2 separate regions of the Homo sapiens genome follow, and region 1 is linked to region 2. Evidence: promoter capture Hi-C in human tissues and cell types (Jung and others, 2019). All regions are on one chromosome and are shown on one strand. Each heading gives the region's core, a stretch centred on a gene start or on the middle of the fragment in contact. The rest is flanking DNA. Distances are from core to core; before and after follow the strand shown. Region 1 holds the start of LINC01647 (long intergenic non-protein coding RNA 1647). Region 2 holds the start of EXOSC10 (exosome component 10).

The links. The method cuts DNA at HindIII sites, captures the fragments that hold promoters and counts their contacts. A contact is called where the count stands out against the background at its distance.
Region 1: a fragment that was not itself captured here is called in contact with the fragment with the promoter of EXOSC10 in region 2 in 1 of the 25 tissues and cell types used here (H1 embryonic stem cells).

What each region holds. Positions count from the first base shown.
Region 1 is chr1:11,609,169-11,613,869 of GRCh38, forward strand. It overlaps LINC01647 (long intergenic non-protein coding RNA 1647), which reads left to right and starts at 363. Exons shown (of 3, transcript NR_104624.1): 1 at 363-945; 2 at 2,675-2,810; 3 at 3,622-4,187. The HindIII fragment of the contact is 5,030 bases long and covers 1-4,616 here.
Region 2 is chr1:11,097,143-11,101,604 of GRCh38, forward strand. It overlaps EXOSC10 (exosome component 10), which reads right to left and starts at 2,727. Exons shown (of 25, transcript NM_001001998.3): 1 at 2,579-2,727; 2 at 878-1,014. The coding sequence starts at 2,689. It overlaps EXOSC10-AS1 (EXOSC10 antisense RNA 1), which reads left to right and starts at 2,533. Exons shown (of 2, transcript NR_135062.1): 1 at 2,533-2,672. RefSeq lists enhancers at 1,893-2,455, 2,107-2,166, 2,456-3,016 and a silencer at 2,068-2,269. The HindIII fragment of the contact is 4,033 bases long and covers 1-3,901 here.

The DNA of each region.
Region 1 (4,701 bases), core at 852-3,351, 510 kb after region 2:
GCTGGGCTCCTGAGTCTGGTGGGGAGGAGGAGAACCTTTATGTCTAGCTCAGGGATTGTAAATACACCAATCAGCATCCTGTGTCTAGCTCAGGGTTTGTGAATGCACCGATCGACACTCTGTATCTAGCTACTCTGGTGGGGCCTTGGAGAACCTTTGTGTGGACACTCTGTATCTAGCTAATCTGGTGGGGACGTGGAGAACCTTTATGTCTAGCTCAGGGATTGTAAATGCACCAATCAGTGCCCTGTCAAAACAGACCACTCGGCTCTACCAATCAGCAGGATGTGGGTGGGGCCAGATAAGAGAATAAAAGCAGGCTGCCCGAGCCAGCAGTGGCAACCCGCTCGGGTCCCCTTCCACACTGTGGAAGCTTTGTTCTTTTGCTCTTTGTAATAAATCTTGCTACTGCTTACTTTTTGGGTCCACACTGGTTTTATGAGCTGTAACACTCACCACGAAGGTCTGCAGGTTCACTCCTGAGCCAGCGAGACCACGAGCCCACCGGGAGGAACGAACAACTCCAGACGTGCTGCCTTAAGAGCTGTAACACTCACCGTGAAGGTCTGCAGCTTCACTCCTGAACCAGCGAGGCCACGAACCCACCAGAAGGAAGAAACTCCGAACACATCTGAACATCAGAAGGAACAAACTCCAGACGCGCCACCTTAAGAGCTGTAACATTCACCGCAAGGGTCCGCGGCTTCATTCTTGAAGTCAGTGAGACCAAAAACCCACCAGTTGCGGACACAGTTGTTGTCACAGCCCGGCCTGCCCCAACCTGCCTCAGAGGAAGCATCGGAGACACTCCACCAGCTTCTCCCATGGCTTCCCTCATCCTGGGGCCAAGGCAGCATCTGGTACAGAGCTGAGGCAGGGGAGAGATATCCTTGGAGCCAACATCCATGTGTTTAACCTGGATCCTCTGTGCCTGAGCAACTCAGGGTGGGTACATAGGAGAGGGCCAAAAAGTGTGGCCTGCAGTCAAGCAGGGGGGTACCAGAGCAGACTCGGGGAAAGGGGATTGAAATCAGTTGGAAAAGTTAAAGCAATTTAAGGAAAAGCAAATATCAGGGCTTAATCAAGTGCTAAATTGAATATAATCCACTGCCACAGAGGGTTGACAGCTGTGGACACAGCCAGTCCAAGCGGGTGAACAGCAGGGAGGCCTGGGCGCTCAGGAAGGTAGCCCTGTGTGTTTCAGGGCACAGGAAACGCAGCAGCGTAGGGCAAAGGCACTGATGGGAGGACCTGAGGGACCCAGGAGGGAGCAGGACACCCTTGAAAGAGCTACCCAGGTTCCCTGGGGTCTTTTGTGAGCCTGGTCCCTGCAGGGACCCCCAGGAAGATGAATCCATTGTTCTAGCGTTTTCACCCCTGTGCCTCCTCATCTTTGGGGTAAGACCTTGGCTCTAGAAGGCCCCTGTCACGATGCACACTTCCTACCAAGAGGGAGAGTGTGCAGGCAATAGATTAGCTGCCCCCCCAACACCCCCAAGAGACCGGAACCCTGAAGAACCTGGGGTGACGGGCACCACTGTGAGGGGCATGTTGCCACCACAGACCAAACATAAGCCTGCGCCTCCAGCCCAAAGGAGACCTGCGTTCTAGGCACCAGCCCCTCCGCACTCCCACTCCTAACCCTCACTCCCACTCTCCTCCTCACTCCCACCCTCTCCTCCCATGGCTGTTTGAAGTCAGTCACACACAGGCCAAAGCCACTTTGAGAATCATACTGTGTGTGACTTATACCCTCTCATGACCCACCCTTGAGGCTCTACTACTGGGAAATCAGCCAGGTCCCTGACCCAGCAGCTCTGAAGACCAGGGAGGGAGGAGGCACCTGGCCGGTTATTGGGCATTTAACAGCAGTGCTTGGCACAGGGATGGCCTGGGAGGCTCTGCCTTCCTGAGGAACAGAAGAGACCCAATCCTAGCCCTGGGCTCTGACCCTCCAGTGGAAATTGTTGCCAAGAGAAAATCTCAACCCATCACTTCCTAGCTGCAAGATGCTGGGAAAATTACTGCATCTTTCTGAAGCTCAGTGTTTCTATCTAAAAAATGGGGATTAAAAAATACATATAAGCACCTAAAGAGGAGAATCCACGTCAAGTGTTTGGAATACTGCCTGGCACATCATGAGTCTTCGTTGCATGTTGTTGTTATTGCTGCTGCTATTATTAAAGCCTAGGAGAAGCTGGCCTCTCCTCTCGCCAGACTCTGCCTGGATAACTTCATAGCAGCTTCTGGCTGGAGGAAGCTGACTGTTTGGAAACAGACAGAGACAGGTTCAATCCCAGCGACACTATTACTAATTAAATGACCTTGAATGACCTTGGGGAAGTTGCTTAAATTCTCCATGCCTCAGTTCCCCATTTATGAAATCAGCATAGTAACGGTACCTATCTTCCAGAATTACCTGGCTCAAAGGAAGTGTTGACTGTTGAATTAAATGAATAAAGAAATGAATGCTGGTATGCCAGTCAGGGGCTTTTGGTCACGAGCCACAAAAGCCCAACCAAGCTAGTTCAAGGGGAAGGGCATCTAGCAGCTCTGGTAATGGAAAAGGCCAGGTGTGATAGCACTGGCTTCAGACACAGCTGAATCCAGGGACTAAAGCCTATCCTTTGACCTCTTAGTGCTCTCTCTCTGTCTCTGTCTCTTCTGCACACAGCTTCTTCCATGTGGCAGGGGCGGGGTGAGGCCACAGACAGCTCCAGCTCACATCAACCCAGCTAATGGCTTCACAGGAAAGAGGGAAGCAAAATCCCAGAGAAGTCTGATTGGCCCGGCCTGGATCTCATGGCTGTGTAAGTAGGGAGGGCTGCAGGGATGCAACCGTCCCCACAGCCAAATGGAGTGACGGGGGGATGTCTCTCCAGGGGACGGGGTTCTGTTACCAGAAGGGGAAGAAATGAGACTGGGCAGGTACAAACGGTATGGCTATATCAGGGGTTCCCAGCAGAGGGCCTGGGCAGCTAGCCAGGGTGGGGCCACAGCCTGTGAGCACAGAGGAGAGAGAAGAAGACAGGGGAAGGAAGTAGAGGGGGAATAAGGGAAAGGGGTAGGGCCTGGACCACCTGGGCTAAACCTCTGAGCTAAGCATCTATATGGGCCCCCAAAACACACACATCCACTGTGTAACAACCACCCTGTTTGTGTGAAGCCAACCCCACGATAGCCCCAAACCCTCCTGCCAAGAGGTAACCCATGCCCCTCGCCACAGCAATTGGTTTAGATAGTGAGCTGATCAGTTTGTGTCATTCCTCTGGCCATACATCTTGGCTCTGAAGTAGGGGGGCCAGTCAGCCCTCCTTCAGGCTGAGGACTTTTGCTGGGATTCTAGGACACAGACATCTCTCTCCTTTTGGACTAGGAGGTACGGCTGGAACTATGCAGCCTTTCTGCCACCATGAGGGAAGCCCTCTTCTAACCAAAACTAACATCAGAAATAGAAAAGACTGGAGAGATAGGAAAATAATTGGGCCTTGTTGATACCAGCTGCTGAGTCAAATAACCCTGGAGACTGCCTTAGCCCTGTACTCCCAGTAACACCTGCTGATAAAGCCCTGGTGTGGCTGAAGCCACTTTGAGCTGAGTTTTTCTATTACATTTTTGCAGGGGCAATGGAAAAGCTGAGGGAACTGGAGAACAGCTGCTGTCCTCTCCCTGCGCACATCTGTTCTGCCTCATGCCAAAGGGAGACAATGGCTAAAGGGGGCCTGTACTGGTCAGGCCCTGCAGAGAAACAGAACACACAGGTTGTGTATGCATGTATAGGTAGGTAGGGAGACAGAGAGTGGGGAGAGAGAGAGGTTCGAGAAATTGGCTCATGTGATTACAGAGGCTGGCAAGTCCAAAATTTGCAGGGTGGGTGATACGGTTTGGCTGTGTCCCCCCACCAAATCTCATCTTGAATTGTAGCTCCTGTAATTCCCACATGTCATGGGAGGGACCCCATGGGAGGTAATTGACTCATGGGGCTGAGTCTTTCCCATGCTGTTCTCATGATAGTGAATAAGTCTCAGGAGATCTGATGGTTTTATAAAAGGGAGTTCCCTGCCCAAGCTCCCTCTTGCCTGCTGCCATGGAAGACGTGCCTTTGCTCCTTTGCCTTCCACCGTGATTGTGAGGCCTCCCCAGCCTCGTGGAACTGTCAGTCCATTAAACCTCTTTTTCTTTATAAATGACCCAGTCTCAGGTATGTTTTTATTAGTAGTGTGAGAACAGACGAATACAGTGGGCCAGCAGGTTGGAGACCCAGAGAAGAGCCGATGCTGCAGCTCGAGTCCCAAGGTTTCTGCTGCAGAATTACCCCTTCCTCAAGGGAGGTCAGGTTTTGTCTTATTCAGGGCTTCAACTGATTGGATGAGGCCCACCCACATTATGGCGGGCCACCTGCTTTCCTCAAAGTCCACTGATTTGAATGTTAAGCTCATCCAAGAACACCTCACAAAAAGATCCAGAATAAGGTTTGGCCACATATCTGGGCACCATGGCCCAGTCAGGCTGACACATCAAATTAACCATCACTGGGTCCCCAGATGCATCTTGTTCGACCTCCTCATGCAGAGATAAAGAAGCAGAGGTCCAGAGAGGCCCAATGGTCTGTCCAAGGTCACAGGGCAATGTAGCAGCAGAGCCTCACTGCCTCCATCCTGACTCCCAGGCCAGGGGTCTCTGGACAGTCCCCTTTCTCCT
Region 2 (4,462 bases), core at 1,477-3,976:
GAGGTTGCTGCGAGCCGAGATCACGCCACTGCACTTCAGCCTGGGCGACAGAGCAAGACTCCGTACTCCCCCCCAACAAAAAAAAAAAAGCTGGTCGTGGTGGTGTACACCTATAATCCCAGCTACTCGGGAGGCTGAGGCAGGAGAATCGCTTGAACCTGGGAGGCGCAGGTTGCAGTGAGCCGAGATTGAGCCAATGCACTCCAGCCTGGGTGATGGAGCGAGACTCCATCTCAAAAAAAATAAAAATAAAAATAAAAATACCTGCTACTCTACAAGTTGTGGGAAAGAATCTTGGATCTGGCAAGGCGCGGTGGCTCACGCCTGTAATCCCAGCACTTTGGGAGGCCGAGGCAGGTGGATCACGAGGTCAGGAGATCGAGACCATCCTGGCTAACATGTTGAAACCCTGTCTCTACTAAAAATACAAAAAATTAGCTGGGCGTGTTGACGGGCACCTGTAGTCCCAGCTACTCAGGAGGCTGAGGCAGGAGAATAGCGTGAACCTGGGAGGCGGAGCTTGCAGTGAGCCGAGATCATGCCACCGCACTCCAGCCTGGGCAATAGAGCGAGACTCCGTCTCAAAAAAAAAAAAGAATCTTGGCTCTAAGTGTTCACGTCCCATTTAATTAAAAAAGATTTGTACAAAAGTCAATATATTTTTTCAGTACAAAAGTCAATACATTTTTTAAAGGCTAAACTAAAAATATACCAAGTAATATTTCCCTAATCAAAATCCATTGCTTCAATTTTCACATTTTATAGCTCTTCATACCACAGAAAATGTTTAAGGAAAAATAAATTTCAGGAAAAATTTATCTACTTCTTTGTTTTCATTTCTTTTCACTAACACAAGAAAACAAAGTACAGTACTTACCACTGAAGCAACCTGTCTCCCTGTGTTTCGCAAAATGCTTGGAAGCCAGGAAAACTTCGGTAAAAATCATACTCATCGCCAAACTGTGGTAGGCCCCCAGATGCCTTGGTGACTGCCACCACGGACCCAAGAGCAAACTGTCAAAAACAAGAAAAGATGGCATGTTTACACAGGGATCCCCATTCATTTGGTATGTCATTTTTTTGATCTATCGTATACAAGGTATCTACTCTTCATCCATCAAAAAAAGCACTCATTTAGTGCCAAACCCCAATCTAATCTAGGCCCTGAGAATACAATACTGAACAGGAAACCAAGTTTGGAGCTTATATTCTTGGGAGAGTTGAGAGACAGAATACATACGTATATAATCTGATTAATATTCACAAATACCTGGGGTTGAATCTTGACTCTGCTACGTATTAACTGAGATCTTGGACAAGTGATTGCTTTATTTGGACTTTAGTGTTCTCCTCTGAGAAACAGGAAAAATAAAAAGGGCCTGCACCACAGAGTTTTTGTGAGGACAGAATGAATAAGCTAATAAAAGCACTTAGGACAGTTCTTGGCACATAAGCGTTATTATTACGACTCAAGTTCAGATCCAAGAGCTTTCTACAGGAATTTGTTTTTGTGTTTTCATCTGGATGAGCATCTAAAAACAATACAAGCTTATCCTAGATCCTTGGACGACAAATTTATAACAGCTACTATCTAAAACTGGATTTGTGTTTATTGTTCAGTTAGTGTCAAGTGGTTCTCTATTTTAACTGTTGTGAGGTAACGAAAAAAAGCCGTGAAGTGACATAAATGATGGCTGATCATGTGAAGGCCTAAAACGTCATTGTGAGTTTTGTGAATAAACATTTCCCAAGAAAAAAGCAGAGAAAGGAGGTGGGAAATTAAGTCACGGAGGGGAACATGGTAGCTTATGAGCATGACCGCCACACAACCAGGACCACAGTTAGTGGTCCAGGAACTATTGAGAGCCATGTTAATGAATCAATAGCATTAGCTAACAGCAAATTAGATAAGATACAACGTTAGTGGAATTTCTGTAAATTTATAGGGTTAATTTACAAATTATTTTAGTTTCATTGCTTTGTAAGAGCTATGCACACCTTAAGCCTAGTTGTACGTTTGCTCATATTTAAGCTAAGTTATACAAAGATCTTAAGTGAACGCCCTGTATACCTTCCAGGAGTTACTAATAAACGTGCAATGGGGCTTTAACAGGTGACATTTAACTCAGGGTTAAAAATTATGTAGGACTGGACTTCAGAAACAGAGGAAGAGAAGGGCCATACTGGCCGCGGGAGGAGACAACTCCAGGCAAGTGTGGGGAGCGCGAAGAAGCCGAGCCCCTGCGGAGAGCTGGTCGGGTGGCTAGGGCGTGGCGAGCGCGACGTCGCAAGGGCTAGGGACGTCTGGGTGGCAAGGAAGCCTTTCCCAGGATGCGAGACGGCTTTCCACATTTGGGCCTCCATGGACTTAGGCTCGCAAGCGGGACGCCCCTCAGTGTCCGTTTCCGAGGCCCCATCCCCGGAGGGTGCAGGAGAGTCTGCGCCCAGCGCGGACAGGGGCCCCGCGACCCTCGCTCGGGCTCCACTACGGCGGGCGGGCATTGGCTGCCCAGAGGGCCCAGTCGGCTTCCGGCGGCCGCGGGCGACTCCTGGTACCCCCGAGGCCCCGCGAACTCACCTTCACAAAGCTGTCGGCGTCCGGGAAGCCTGGCAGCACCATCTCTCCGTCGGATTTGGTTGCGCTGGTCGCCGACAGGACCCTGGGCTCCCGGGTACTGGGTGGCGCCATTTTTTCAGCCTGCACGGCTCGTCTCGCGAGAGCTTGTCGGCCGAGGAGACGGGACGCGTGCGCACCACGCATGCGCCAGGTCGAAGCGGCGGGCGGGGCGTCTGATTATAGTGTGGGGAGCCTGCGATTGGGGTGGGGCGCCTGCGATTAGGTTGGGAAGCCTGCGTTTAGGGTGGGGCACCTGCGATTAGGTTGGGAAGCCTGCGATTAGGTTGGGAAGCCTGCGATTAGGGTGGCACTTTCGAGCGCTCTGGTGTGAATTTCACGTTCTTTTACCTCATATTGTATCATCCCAACAACCCTGTGATCTAGGGTGCGGCCTGGAGGACCTGACTATCACATATATTTTTGACACGAGGTTTGCCCAATCTGGTTTCGAACTCTTGGGCTCAAGAGATCCTCCCACCTTAGCCTGCGAAGTAGCAGGGACCCCAGGCGAGGGCCACGATCCCCGCTTATCCTCGTGTTTATTTAAAAATTTAAAAAACAAACAAACCGGGATTACCGGGAGTGGTGGTGCGCATCTGTAGTCCCAGCTGCTCGGGAGGCTGAGGTGGGATGGTTGCTTGAGCCGAGGAGGTGGAGGCTCCACTGCACTCCAGCCGGGGTGACAGGATGAAACCCTGTCTCAAAAATTTCTTTTTAAGGTTATGTTTTTGAGGCTGGGCGCCGTGACTCACACCTGTAATCCCAGCACTTTAGGAGGCCGAGGCGGGTGGATCACCTGAGGTCGGGAGTTGGAGACCAGCCTGGCCAACATGGTGAAACTCTGTCTATACTAAAAACACAAAAATTAGTCGGGCGTGGTGGCACATGCCTGTAATCCCAGCTACTCGGGAGGCTGAGGCTTGAGCCCGGGAGGTGGAGGTTACAGTGAGCCGAGATCGAACCACTGCATTCCAGCCTGGGCAACAGAGTGAGACCTTGTCACAAACAAACAAAAAAAACCATGTTTTTGGGACAAAGTTTCACTCTTGCTCTCCCAAAGTGCTGGGATTACAGATACGAGTCATCAGCGTGCAGCCTATTTTTATTTTTATTTTTTTTGAGATGGAGTCTCACTCTGTTGCCCAGGCTGGAGTGCAGTGACGCAATCTTGGCTCACTGCAACCTCCCGCCTCCCGGGTTCAACGAATTCTCTTGCCTCAGCCTCCCGAGTAGCTGGGATTACAGGCGTGCACCACCACGCTCGGCTAATTTTTTTCGTATTTTTAGTAGAAACGGGGTTTCACCATATTGGCCAGGCTGGTCTCGAACTCCTCACCTTGTGATCCTCCCGCCTCGACCTCCCAGAGTGCTGGGATTACAGGCGGAGCCACCGTGCCTGCCCTGTTTATTTTTTTTTTTTGAGACAGAGTCTCACTCTGCTGCCCAGGCTGGAGTGCAGTGGTGCAATCTCAGCTCACTGCAACCTCCGCTTCCTAGGTTCAAGTAGCTGGGATTACAGGCGTGTGCCACAATGCCCGGCTAATTTTTTTTTTTTTTTTGTATTTTTAGTAGAGATGGGGTTTCACCATGTTGGCCAGGCTGGTCTTGAACTCCTGACCTCAAGTGATCCACCTGCTTTGGCCTCCCGAAGTGCTGGGATTACAGGTGTGCGCCACCAGCGCCTGGCTTATTTTTTTTAGACTGCATCTTACCAACCTGGTCTCGAACTCCTGGGCTGAAGCCGTCCTCCCACCTCACTGGGATTACAGGCAGGAACCACTGTGCCCGGCCCAGCCTCATATTTAAAGTCACCTCCTCCCAAGCTCTGGCTGGTTCTGTGTTCCC